2 separate regions of the Homo sapiens genome follow, and region 1 is linked to region 2. The links are contacts of gene promoters, found by promoter capture Hi-C in blood cells and fetal thymus (Javierre and others, 2016). All regions are on one chromosome and are shown on one strand. The core of a region is centred on a gene start or on the middle of the fragment in contact, and the rest is flanking DNA. Distances in the headings are between cores, read along the strand shown.

Region 1 (6,114 bases), core at 367-2,866, 550 kb before region 2:
CTTTCATTTATTTTTTCCTCTTCTTGCTCTTCTCTTATTCTTTAATCCAGCAAATCCAAATTATAAAGGAAATATATTTCCTCTCTAGTCTCAAGTGAGAATATTTATCAAAATTTCAGTTCCCATTACAAAATAAAATAAGTCAACAATGGACACTGGAGGCTGCTGGAAGCGGGAGGGGTAAGCATTGAAAAACTGTTAGGTACCATGCTCACTACTAGGGTGACATGATCATCCGTATTCCAAACCTAGTATCGTGTAATATACCCACATAACGAACCTGCACATGTACTTCCTGAATCTAAAATAAAAGTTAAAATTATTTAAAGTATCAGTAGACAATATGACTTATCCTATAGACTCTTTTGTTTAACGAAGCCTAAAGCTATTGTATAAAGCCCGTAGCTAACTATAAGCCAAACTTAAATGAATAAAATAAGCACAACATTTAGCTCTTATATCTATCAATCATCTATCTATCAATCAATCTTTCTATCATCTGTCAATCATCCATTGAGCTAGGCATTCATGAGGCTTCAGATGACCCCTGTCATCCGAAAGTGAATATTTTCTATAAAATATTGGTTTTCTAGGTCACCGTTTTCACACTGTGGGGTCATGCCTCATAACTCATTAGTGAGTGATAAAATCAATATAATGGGTAGCAAACAGTATGCACACACACACACACACACACACACACACACAAGTAGGACAGAATAGAAAATATTGTATTTTCTCTTAACAAGACATGTCAAAAGAGAAAATGCAATTTTATAAAACTCTTGCTTCAGTACATTAGCAGACATAAAAAACTAAGTGCTAAACCAAAAATGTTTAAAAGTCTCCGTTCTACAGTATGGTTCATATATTTTCTGAGCTAATAAAATAATTTTTAAAAACAAACATACATACATACATGCATATACCTTGTAACTGTAAGTAAGTAAATTATTTAACTTATCTGAAAATATTTACTTGTAAGTAAATATCAACGATACAAAGTCATGATAAAGGACTATTATGAAGAATAAAATGAGAACATGTTGCACAAGTCCCTCAAACTACATCCAGCAAATAGCAAATAAATTGTAGCTATTGTTCTTATTATAAAATTACACAGAGCATAACACTAGAATCAAAAAGTTGTGAGAAGAACAAAAATATCCTTTAGTCATCTGCATTGGAGACCACTCACATGCAAGCTTAAATTCTTGGGTCCTCGCCTCTTCACTATTCTCTGCTGCAGAGATTTGCTTAGCACAGGCTTCTATCACCTGCACCATGGCCTCCCACTCCTGCCCCATGGTCTCTCAGATGCCATAGTAGGAGATGTCTGTAGAAACCAAACGGCAGGATAATTAACCCCTACGTGTCCAACCTTGTCCACTGGGGTCTGGGAACTAATTAATAATTTGTGGGAGCTCAGAACATGATATGTGAAAACATGGCACTCAGCAATTGAAAAAGCTACAGGAGCTAGAAGGTCACTCTGACCACCCCCACTTTTCTGTATAAAGCATAGTTATAAAACATTTTTTTTAATCTACCTTAACTGAAAGTAAGTCATAAGACCCGCATTCCAGAGGAGTACTGCACCAAACCTGGAGAGAAGGAATGATACACAGAGAAGCCAAGAAGAATTTGAACCTTTCAGGGCCTTTCTGGGTTCCCTCCCCCCACCTTCAGTTTATTATCATGAAGTTTCACCCTGTTTTTTGTACACTGACATTTCTACAGGACTGTCCATTCCTCATTGAACCTAAGTATAAAAATGCAGTTTTTTGGGGGGGGGTCCTTGAGTCCTCATTTCCGAACGCTCTCATGTCACATAAAACATTGTTAAATCAATTGGCTGTGCTTTTCTCTTATGAATCTGTCTATTGTTATAGCACTGTAAGTAATAACTTACAGTGGGTGAGGAAAAATATTTACTTTTTCACTCCCACAAATTGATTCCCCCTTTGTCCCTTAGGTGGTCAGTTCCAAGATTCATGTCACAAGTTTCCTTAAAAGTTCTCTCTGAATCAAGCTTCTTTGCCTGTCACAGTAGACAATGGGATCATACATATTTGGATTGCCTTTCTCTACTTCCTGCTTCTCTCCCCTCACCCCCCATAGGGGCAATAAGGTAATAACTTTTTCTCATCCGTCATAAGGGTCACGGATGACAGTCCTGTAACAAAAGACAGATTAACAGAAAAAAAAACCCATAAGTTTATTTAACCAGGGTTTTATGTGACCCCCATACCCAGGGAAAACTGTGTGCTTTTATTCTAAGTCTGATGAAAAAAGTGAAAAGTTGTGAAGAAGCATGATTGGACAAAGAAAGTAGAATCTAATAGTAATCAACTGCGAGGAGACCAAGCAAGGCCTACTTGTTCAGATTATTCTTGGGCTCTCTATGTGGCATTCCTCTCTCAGCATATGGGGCAGGAACTCTAGAACAAGACCCTCATGACCTGCTTTCAGGGAAGGTAGGCCAGAGAGTGACGTTTCTAGGTTTTATGGTTCACTTTGAGGGAGAGGAGTTCTAACTTCTATAATCTGAGGTGGGGAGAAAAATTCTTGACACATCTTGGGGGAGCGTGGGGAAAGGAAGAAGGGAGAGCATGAGAAGGTCAGAGTGACCTTTCTTCTAAGGCCTACCAATCTCCTTCCTAACGAAATACTCAGCATGCCATGACACCATATTTTGGGATATCGTGTTCTGATCCCTGATATGCTCATTTCTCTTCCCTAGAATCACTTTCCAAATATCACTTTCCAAATAAAGCACAGCTGGTCCCAGACTTACAATGATTCGACTTACGATTTTTGACTTTATGATGGTTTGAAAGCCATATGCATTCTGTAAAAACTGTACTTCAAATTTTGAATTTTGATCTCTTCCCAGGCTAGCAATATACTGTACTCTACTCTTTGTCACTGGCAGCCACTGCCCCCAGTCAGCCAAGCAATTACAAGGGCAAACAACCAGCACTCTATGGGGTTCTATGTTGTTAGATGATTTTGCCCGGCTGTAGGCCAATGTAAATGCTGTGAGCACATATAAGTAGGCTCGGCTAAGCTACAATGTTCTGTAGGTTAGGTGTATAAGATGCATTTCTTAGCTACATATTTTCAACATATGATGGGTTTATCTAGAGGTAACCCAAGTTAAGAAGCATCTACCCCTGCATGCAAGCCTCTGTCTTGGGCTCTGCTCTTAAGGAGATCCAAGCTAAGAAAGTCTCCAACCTCCTTTCTTCATACCTATCTTATTCTTTCCACTGCTAGTGTTGTTCTTAGTAATTAGAGAAAATGAACCCCAGGAAGCGAGGCTCTTAGCAATGTTATGATACACCTAGAACACTCTGGTCTCCATTTCCAGCTTCTAGTGTCTTTTGTGAGGGAAGGAAGTAGACAGCAAGAAACCTAAAGATGTCCTTGACTTTATTAATTTGGAGATTTCAGGAATCATTGTCTTTTTCTAAAAGAGAAAACTGAAAAGTATCAAAAGGAATTTTTGATGTCAAGACAAATAGGACTAGCTCCAATAATAAGCACTATTCTTGAACAGGGCATACGTTTGCCTTGTTTGTAAATACATGGCTGCATTTCTGCTCCACCAGAGTAAGTGACATATGCAAATCCTGTATAATAATCCCTTTCTAAGAAGGCTGCTTATTTGCTTTTTATGTTTGTTTCTGTAAATTGATTAGAGAGGAATTTGTTTATACCCCAAATAAGACAATAGAGAATTGTAATCATATTTCACCACAGGCCTCCAATTTCTGCCCTAGAGAATATAATGAAATGATGGAAACACCTCCTCCTTCTGCGGAACTGAAAGCTGTGCTTTAGGCTGTTGGCACAATTTCTGCCATGTACACCCCACCAATCATCAAATGGGCCCTAGGATTAAGATCCCTACCTTCAGGCTATGGGCCCATAGCTGCACAGTAATTGCAGTGTTGCTTGCAGTTGTGTTTGATAAGGAATTAATGACATGTGAAACATTCCGACGCATTTAGGATATCTCCTGCCTCATTGTGATTAAGGGAATCAAAATGCATTCTGATCTAGAATTGGAGGTAGCCTAAACCCTCCATCATTCTAAAACCTACACAGTAAGCTAAGACTATTACCTTATGTAATTTGTACTTTAGAAAATAAGGACATTGAATCTCAAAGAAGAAATAATCTTCTCAAAGTCAAATACTAAGTAGGTACAAGAACGCATATTCATACTCATATCTATCTGACTCTTCAAGACCACACTATTCCATCTCACGTTAGCATTTGTGGAATAATTCCTCTGTGCTGAGCATTGTGCTATGTGTTTCTATAAGTATCTATTTTACTAGCATCAGAATACCAACAGCTCCTGAATTTGTATAAGGTAGCTGGCCAGCCAGCTCATAGACGCATTCTCCAGCCTCCCACCAGTTATAGCCAAATATCCAGGTTCTCACCAAGGGAATATGAGCAAAAGTAATATGAGCAACTTTTGCATCACTTCTTTAAAATAAAATTACTTGTTTTCCTTTCTCTCCCTTTCTATTTTCCCTCAGGCAAGAAGCTTGACATAGCATCGATGAGCCCAAGTCAACTATATGAACAAAACAATGTCTCAGGAGGGGCAGGGTATCACGTCAGAAGAATCCTGAGTCCTTAGATGACCTTGTAGAAAAGAGCCACAAACTTACTCTGGGCTACCTTCATACCTCTGAACTATTATGCAGAGAGAAATAAATGTATTCAAATCACTGTTTTTTGGGTTTCTTCATTCATGTAGCTTAGCCTATAACCTAAGTAATGAAACTCCAGAGAACACTGTACACATTACAAAGGAAAATCTAGAGTCAATTTGCCAAAGTTTATGTAGCCTATGAGTGTCAAAGCTGGGATATGAACCCAAATCTTGTCTCCATTTTCAGGGCTTTTAAATCAAACAAACAGTGTAATTGACTTAGAAAAGTGCTTCTCAAAGTTTAGCAAGCATCAGAACCACCTGGAAAGCTTATTACAATGCAGATTCCTGAGCCCCTTCCCTAGAGACTCTGATCAAGGAGGTCTTGGGCCAAACCTAAGAATTGGCAGTTCTAACACGCCCCCATATGATGCTGAGATTACCTGTCTAGTGACCACAGTTTGAGTATCACTGACAGTAACTCCTTAAACAGAGATGGAAGACAACAAAAAAAAGAAAAAAAGAGAGAAATAAGACTTTAACGTTCAAAGGACAGAAGCCCTGGGCATGACTGAAGCAAAGGGAGCAAGAACTGAATCAGGAAAATGCTGATAACAATGATGATAAGAGCCAGCAATTATTGTGTGTCATGCACTGTTTTCATTATCAGATTTGATCCTCACACTCTATGAGGTAATTTAAACAATGCTTTTCATATATGAGGAAACTGAGGTTACTTTCTTTATATCAGACGCCATCCTTGTTACTTGTACTCTGTACAAGGTGAGCGACTAACCTGCATTTCGGTTACATAACTTCAGAATAATAGCTCTTTGATATTTTTATAAAGTAAACACTGTTCATAAAGGAGTGCCTAAAAGATATTCACTAACTCCTTTCCCTAGATGTGCTAAAATCTAACCTCCTATTGAGCTAGACCAGCCAAAATCTACCCAGACATCCCTAAGCCTGTTTTGCCCATTTGTAGCATAGTAATGCCTTACAGACACATTGTAAAAACTAAAGATGTCACGTGGAGGATGGACTCAGTAAATAGGAGAAATTACTCATGTTAAGAAGGAAGGGAATGAAGACAAATCATTCCTGAACAGAGAATTCACAGCATATTGAAGGGAAGTAAAAGGCAGCTTTAAACCTAGCATTTTTAATTATTCCATTTCAATGTCTCTTTTCATGCTGTGCCTATTAGAATAAAATAAAATTTTCAAGTCTTTCTGGCCCCCTTCTGCCTGCTCCAAAACCTAATGGCACTTGTGGCGTTGGACCTCCTTTCAGCTAGAGTGCTGGGCTGAAGCAGTTGTGGAGAACACTTTGATCCCAGCCAGAGTAAAAGCTGAGGACATTCAGTAATAATTTGTCTTGCCTAATAATTTGAAAGTGCCTAAGGACTAACCTCAGAACATCATGACCCCAATGAA
Region 2 (6,450 bases), core at 3,661-6,160:
TATCCATCAACCTGTCATCTACATTAGGTATTTCTCCTAATGCTATCCCTCTCCTAGTCCCCCACCTCCTGACAGGCCCTGGTGTGTGATGTTTCCCTCCCTCTGTCAATGTGATCTCATTATTCAACTTCCAATTATGAGTGAGAACATGTGGTGTTTAGTTTTCTGTTCTTGTGATAGTTTGCTGAGATGATGGTTTCCACTGTCATCCATGTCCCTGCAAAGGACATGAACTCATCCTTTTTTATGGCTGCATTGTATTCCATGTTGTACATTGCCACATTTTCTTTATCCAGTCGATGACTTTGGTTTTAATGGTTACTTTTAATTTTTTAAAATGTTTGCTTGTATTACTTTCATTTGTTCAATATTAGTTATTTGTATTGTATTTGATTTTTATTTATTTTACAACATCTTCAGTTGAATGTTTATTTTCAGTCTTCTTAAAAACATATACATTTATGATAAAACATTTTTTGAGTACTCTGGCTGTTCTATAGATTTTAATATACAGAACTGTCACCAATGTTCATTTATAAACAGGATGTGATTTTAGTTAAGTTTTTCTCTTCATTCCAGAAAGCTATCTTAAAAGAGAGATTGTAAGTGAACGTATTTCTTTTGGATAACTTTTGTTTTAAATTTAAGATTTCTTTTAGTCAGTGAATGTAGCCTGTTTAATTTTCGTTTCCTGGAATTTGTTAAAATTTTCTTCCTGGTTTAATCCAAGGTTAATATTTATGAATGTTTTAATGATGAGAAAGAGAATGTCTGTCCTCTGTTAATAGGAACAAACCTCTAAGTAGATGTGTTTGATTATTCTTGCTATTTGTGTTACTTAATTACATAGATTTTTTTTTTTCTTTTGCCTTCTTGATGTATTTGCCAGTTAAATATATTAAAGCAAGTCATTGTGATTGTGGATTTTTTTTCCTCGTGTGTTTCCAATAATCTTTGTTTATTAGGCTTTGAAGCCCTATTTTTAAGCACATATAGGTTCATCACTGTTCTACCTTCTGTGTAGATTTTTTATCAATTTTAAATATTTCTTTTAATCCTTTTAATGGCTTTTATTTTTAATTATTTCTTATTGGACATTAATATTCTTACACCTGCCTTTGTTTATCATTTGCTCCTTTAAATGCTTTGTATATATCGGAACTGGTTAACTGATGGTGCTGGTTCAGCAAATACCATCACTTAAGGACATGGTTGCATTATTCTTTTTCTGAGTGCTTCTTAACTTTCTTTAATTTATTTGGGCATTTAAGTCTGTTTGTTGGCCCTGTGGTCATCACTCACATTTTTCTTGCGCTCCTGACCTGTGCTTTGTCAATCAGAAATGGTTGTATCTTCGTCTTATTCTTTAGAATCTGACTTTTGTGCTTGTCTTTCTTTTTCTTTCATTCTATTTGTTGCTGTTGTTGTTGTTGTTTGAGACAGAGTTTCATGATCTCGGCTCAGCTAAGTTTTGTATTTTTTGTAGAGGCAGGGTTTCACCATGTGGCCAAGGCTGAACTTGAATTTCTGGGCTCAAGTAATCCGCCTGCTTTGGCCTCCCAAAGTGCTGGGATGGGTCACCCGACCAACTTTGGTCCTTTTTTGTTATAGCCATACAAAGAATAAGAAAGCATTTCCACTGGCTTCTTTCATACTGACTGGATAGAACTAGCTAGGATGTTCTCCTAATTTTGTTGCTAAGTTGTCTCGGGTTATTAGAGTGGGTACTTGTCTTCCCAAAACAAGATCTTTTTTTCTCTGTATACATTTAGATTGTTTCATTCCTCTTTGAAGAGTAAGATGAATTATTAGGGCTAATGATGGGATTTAAGCTCTTCAGAAAATATGATAGAGAGTACCACACATATAGGGAAGTAAAGGGCTAAAGTCATTATCTTAAATATGCAAGAGTAGAAATGCATTTATGTGGTATGTGTTATAGATGTGTTCATGTAGTTTTGCTCTTATGTTTTTAAGTTAGAAAGAGTTTCTAAAAATAGCTTCTGGATAATAAGCTGATAGACTTCTACTGCTTTTGAAATACATTTCACTGGTTAGGCAACATCTATTAATGCTGTATCTCACATATTGCTTCATCTGAGGCTGTTGAAGTTAAGGAAACTTAATTTCATTTGGTTCAAAACGTTTTGAACAAAAATGAAAGAACATAAATTGTAAAAGAAATCCCTCAGCTTGACCCGTGAAAGTAAAGTAAATGTGCTGACAGAGGTCTAAGAAATCAAAAAATGGGAAGAGAACAAATAATAAAATTGAGCAAGACTTCCAATGGTTCAGTAAAATGGCTCCTGAAGACAATGTTATAACTCTATCAATCTGTGTTTACTTCTCTAAAGGCCTAAGGAGATCATCATGGAAATGGCAATGAATTTTGAAAACTAAAAGAAAAAGTGTGTATAAATTATAACTTTTATATCATAGCATTTCCAAAATTCTTTTCATGAAACTCTACTCTGAGGAGACAGCTTCATTAGCAAAGTTAATGGATATTAGAATACTATAAATTGGGCCGGGCACGGTGGCTCACGCCTGTAATCCCAGCACTTTGGGAGGCCGAGGCGGGCGGATCACAAGGTCAGTAGATCGAGACCATCCTGCGAATGGTGAAACCCCGTCTCTACTAAAAATACAAAAAATTAGCCGGCGATGTGGTGGGCGCCTATAGTCCCAGCTTCTTGGGAGGCTGAGGAGGGAGAATGGTGTGAACCCGGGAGGCGGAGCTTGCAGTGAGCCGAGATCGCGCCACTGCACGCCACTGCACTCCAGCCTGGGCTACAAAGCGAGACTCCGTCTCAAAAAAAAAAAAAAAGAATACTATAAATTGGTAACTTCCGAAGTGAAGATAGCCATTTAATTTGGAATTACTACATTTTTCAAACTTTTAAGACTCTAAGAACTTTTATGAATCACCTATTACTATTCAGCAGTTCAGAAAAGCCACAATTTATTATGTGGTTTTCACGGACATAGAATTTGTATAATTTAAAATATAACATCTATCTCATCATAGAAATCTGATAGTATGAAAATTTTTATTTTTAATGTCAATGAATAAAAATACAAGCTATACATAAATAAGCCAAAGTGTCTGATATGTATATCACATAGGTATCCTGTATATAGATCATACCTCAAAGAGACTTATGTCCTGGCAAAAATAAATGTCTTTGTCCTGGTGTAACAGTAATTTAAAACATTTATTCTAGTGGAGGTTAAGTGTTCCTGGAAACTTTTGGTTCAGGATTCTAAGAGTGGCTGGAGAAGATGAGTTTAAACATTCTCTTCATAGAACTTATTTACTAACATAATAACCTAAAAGTAATAAACAGAGTGAGATGTAATAACTGATTCTGAGTTTTAAAATACTGTGAGAGAAAATGTAAATACCAAGCTTTTGCTTAAGGAGATAACTTCATTAATATAATTCTGCCTATCTATGTGCTTACCTACCTTTCTGCCTAGCTATCATACAAAGTAAATATTTGCAAATTGTTTATGTTCTAAAACTGATCATTCATGTACAGCATAACCAAAAACTTGGCCAGCATTCAGCAGCAATTATAACAGAGGAAAAGCATTCTCTCTGTGGTGTTCAATATCAATTTACTAAGTTGTCCTTGATAGACAGTTCCAAGGTTGCATATGAGTTCAAACCTCAATAGGTTTCCTCCAGGATATATGCTTTAAGTTGGACAGGAACTTGTTAAGCTCCACAAATAACATTGATATAACAAATTTAAGCTTCCTGCTGAATATTAACTGTATACTAAATACTACATTGACACTAATAATAGCTACTATTGAGCATTTATCAGGAATGTTGAAATGATAGAAACTTCACAGATTATTGTAACTCACTTCTGCATTTAAAGCAAGAGGAACAAGTTGTAGAGAAATCAGAGTGATTTATCCAAAGTCAGTTGGTGACAGGTAAGAGATCCTGGCTTTTAATTCAATGCTATTTCTATTGCATCCGCTGGTTTTAAATGGCCTTCCATAATTTGATGGAGTCTGATAAGGCTCTTTGGATTTTTAGAAGGTAATTTCCTGTACCTGGTTTGTATATGTCACTTCATCCTCAATTTTATGTGAACATATTACCATTCATATCACGTTAGAATAAAAGATACTGAAGGGAAGAGTCTGACAAAACAGATAAAATGGCTTTCTTTGTTAAGATCAAACACATTCTGTATAATATATGTATCTACATATGTATATATATCATTATGCATTTAATACAATGTCAGAAGCATAAATCAAATATATTTTTAAATATACCTTGTTTTTCTCTTCCATACATCAAGCATCTACCTTATATTCTGCTGTTAGTTTTTCACTAATTTGTGTCCAGGGAATGTATATTTGCTCAAGAATCAGTCAAAGTAAAACTTTTTTTTTTTCTGGAAAAATTATGTAATATGCACATACATCTACACACAAACACACATATACACAGAGACACATGCAGATGGACTCAAAAGTCAAATGTCTATATAAATATGTATGTTTGTAAACACACATCTATACACACACAAATAATCTATTTTATCTGTGTGATGTTACCTCTATCAACACATATAATTATGAAACTATTTCTATAATTTGTATGTCTAGATGCATAAACAATGCATATTTCCTATATATTTTTTTAAGTACTTCTTTATGTAACAGTTGTTTGTAGATGTGTTTGGGGACAACATCTCTGGTTGGTTTGTGGTTGGTTTATATTTTCATTTAAATCTATACAGTCCACTGCTTACTTTGTAAACCCCATAATTCAAATGTATAGATCATCCAGTATTCAAGATTAATTAGTATCATGGCTCTTTTCATCTCAGAAAACACTATTAAGACAACATTCTAAACATTTGAGGGGAATAATCTTAAAATCATATTATAGGTTTTTTAATTTTTTTGAAAAGTAACTGGCTTCACAAACACCAAGTACAACATGATTTAGACAACTGAGAAACAGGCAAGTATATTTTGAAGTGCTAAAATAAAACATATTTATACAAGTACAAAGCAAAACAATGCTGATAAAAATGTTAAACTTTATGAAAAAAAATCATTTGCAGTTCACATCAAAATAATTTAACATTCTCTATTATTTTAATAGTACAAGCTGCCACAACAGAGAAAGAACAGATACACGCACACAATTTTAAAACCAAATCAGTTATAAGTGCAGAAAAAAGTAAGTACAAGCACTTTTAGCCCACACAAATCTTTTAGGATTGGCACCATCTTTCTAAAACATCTATAATCTATATAGATTTCTAATTACAACACCATCAGCAGCTGCCATTGATTTCTAGAAATACACACAATATACATAGTATATTTGTTCACATTGGGAAGATCAGTGAAATTCAACCAACTATTTTATACATGCCTCATTCTTCAATAGACAGTAGAGACTCTCCCAGGCCTCAGACCCTCTTCAAAGTGAATTCTGACTTGTCTTTATGCTTTCACTGATCTGTATTTTTTCACAGTATAAAATTGTAAATGGTAACTATAGAGATTCTGACAGCTTGAGGGTTATTAATAAGCTGTTGCTAAATGTGAACTCACATAATACCTTTGAAGTCTCCAAAACATGTACATTTTACTGGGAGACTAGCATAGGAAATGCTTTTGTTTTTTGTTATTCTTAAAAAGAGCATTTAATTCCTGGCTTGGAAGTCACAGAACTGCAGCAGAGCTATTATACAATTCATTTACAGTCAGAAATAGCTCCTAGTCTTCCTGATCACTTGCTGGTAACAGCAGTAGTTTGGGAAAGATAGTTACTTTCAAGGATTAGCACGTTTGGGGATTTGCTTTTTTTCCTTGCTTCAGTCAAATCTCTTATAATTTTTCTTTCCATACTCCCTTTCTGTTCCCCATCCCTAGCCCAGAAAGACGGTTCTTCCCAATCCAGATATGTTCTTCTTAGGCTGCCCCCACTCCTTTCCCAAAATGGAAGGATGAGTGGACTGCTTAGATTAGTCAGTATAACTTGGTTAAACCACGTCTTCTTCTTTCCATCCTGGGACATATCTCTCATTTAGGGTCACTTTGCTGAGCCTTAGCATATCCCCTTCCTTTTAGTCATGCTGGTCCCGACTGAATTATCACTGGGCACCAGGAACAGATTGTTTTGAAGGAAATTCAATGAGAATGTACCCAAATGAATTGTGAAGTTCATATCCTATAGCCCTAGAATGAATATTCAGTTCTCTTTGTACTGTAGAGTTATTACTTGGAACCTGGTATTAGAATTGGCAAAGAGACAGAGTTAGCATCATTCCAAAATAAAAGATCTCAAGAATGCATTACTAATAATCTTATGTCCAACATACAATGTATTCAATGGAGTGGCAAAAGTTATAGAAATACAGAGAAAAATATATCTTGTCCTTTTCTAATTGGATAAATCATTTT

Evidence for each region. Contacts are between HindIII fragments. The CHiCAGO score rates a contact against its expected background, and 5 or more counts as called.
Region 1: a contact is called between a fragment that was not itself captured here and the fragment with the promoter of GRM5-AS1 in region 2, in 2 of 17 cell types (erythroblasts and activated CD4 T cells). The highest score is 6.8, in erythroblasts.

Annotation. Positions count from the first base shown.
Region 1 is chr11:87,955,198-87,961,311 of GRCh38, forward strand. It overlaps a transcript of RAB38 not described here. Among named protein-coding and RNA genes, the nearest start is that of RAB38, 220 kb to the right of the region's middle. The HindIII fragment of the contact is 827 bases long and covers 1,204-2,030 here.
Region 2 is chr11:88,499,666-88,506,115 of GRCh38, forward strand. GRM5-AS1 (GRM5 antisense RNA 1) reads left to right here and starts at 4,911. Exons shown (of 6, transcript NR_049724.1): 1 at 4,911-6,450. GRM5 (glutamate metabotropic receptor 5) reads right to left here. Exons shown (of 10, transcript NM_001143831.3): 10 at 4,977-6,450. The HindIII fragment of the contact is 8,959 bases long and covers 3,758-6,450 here.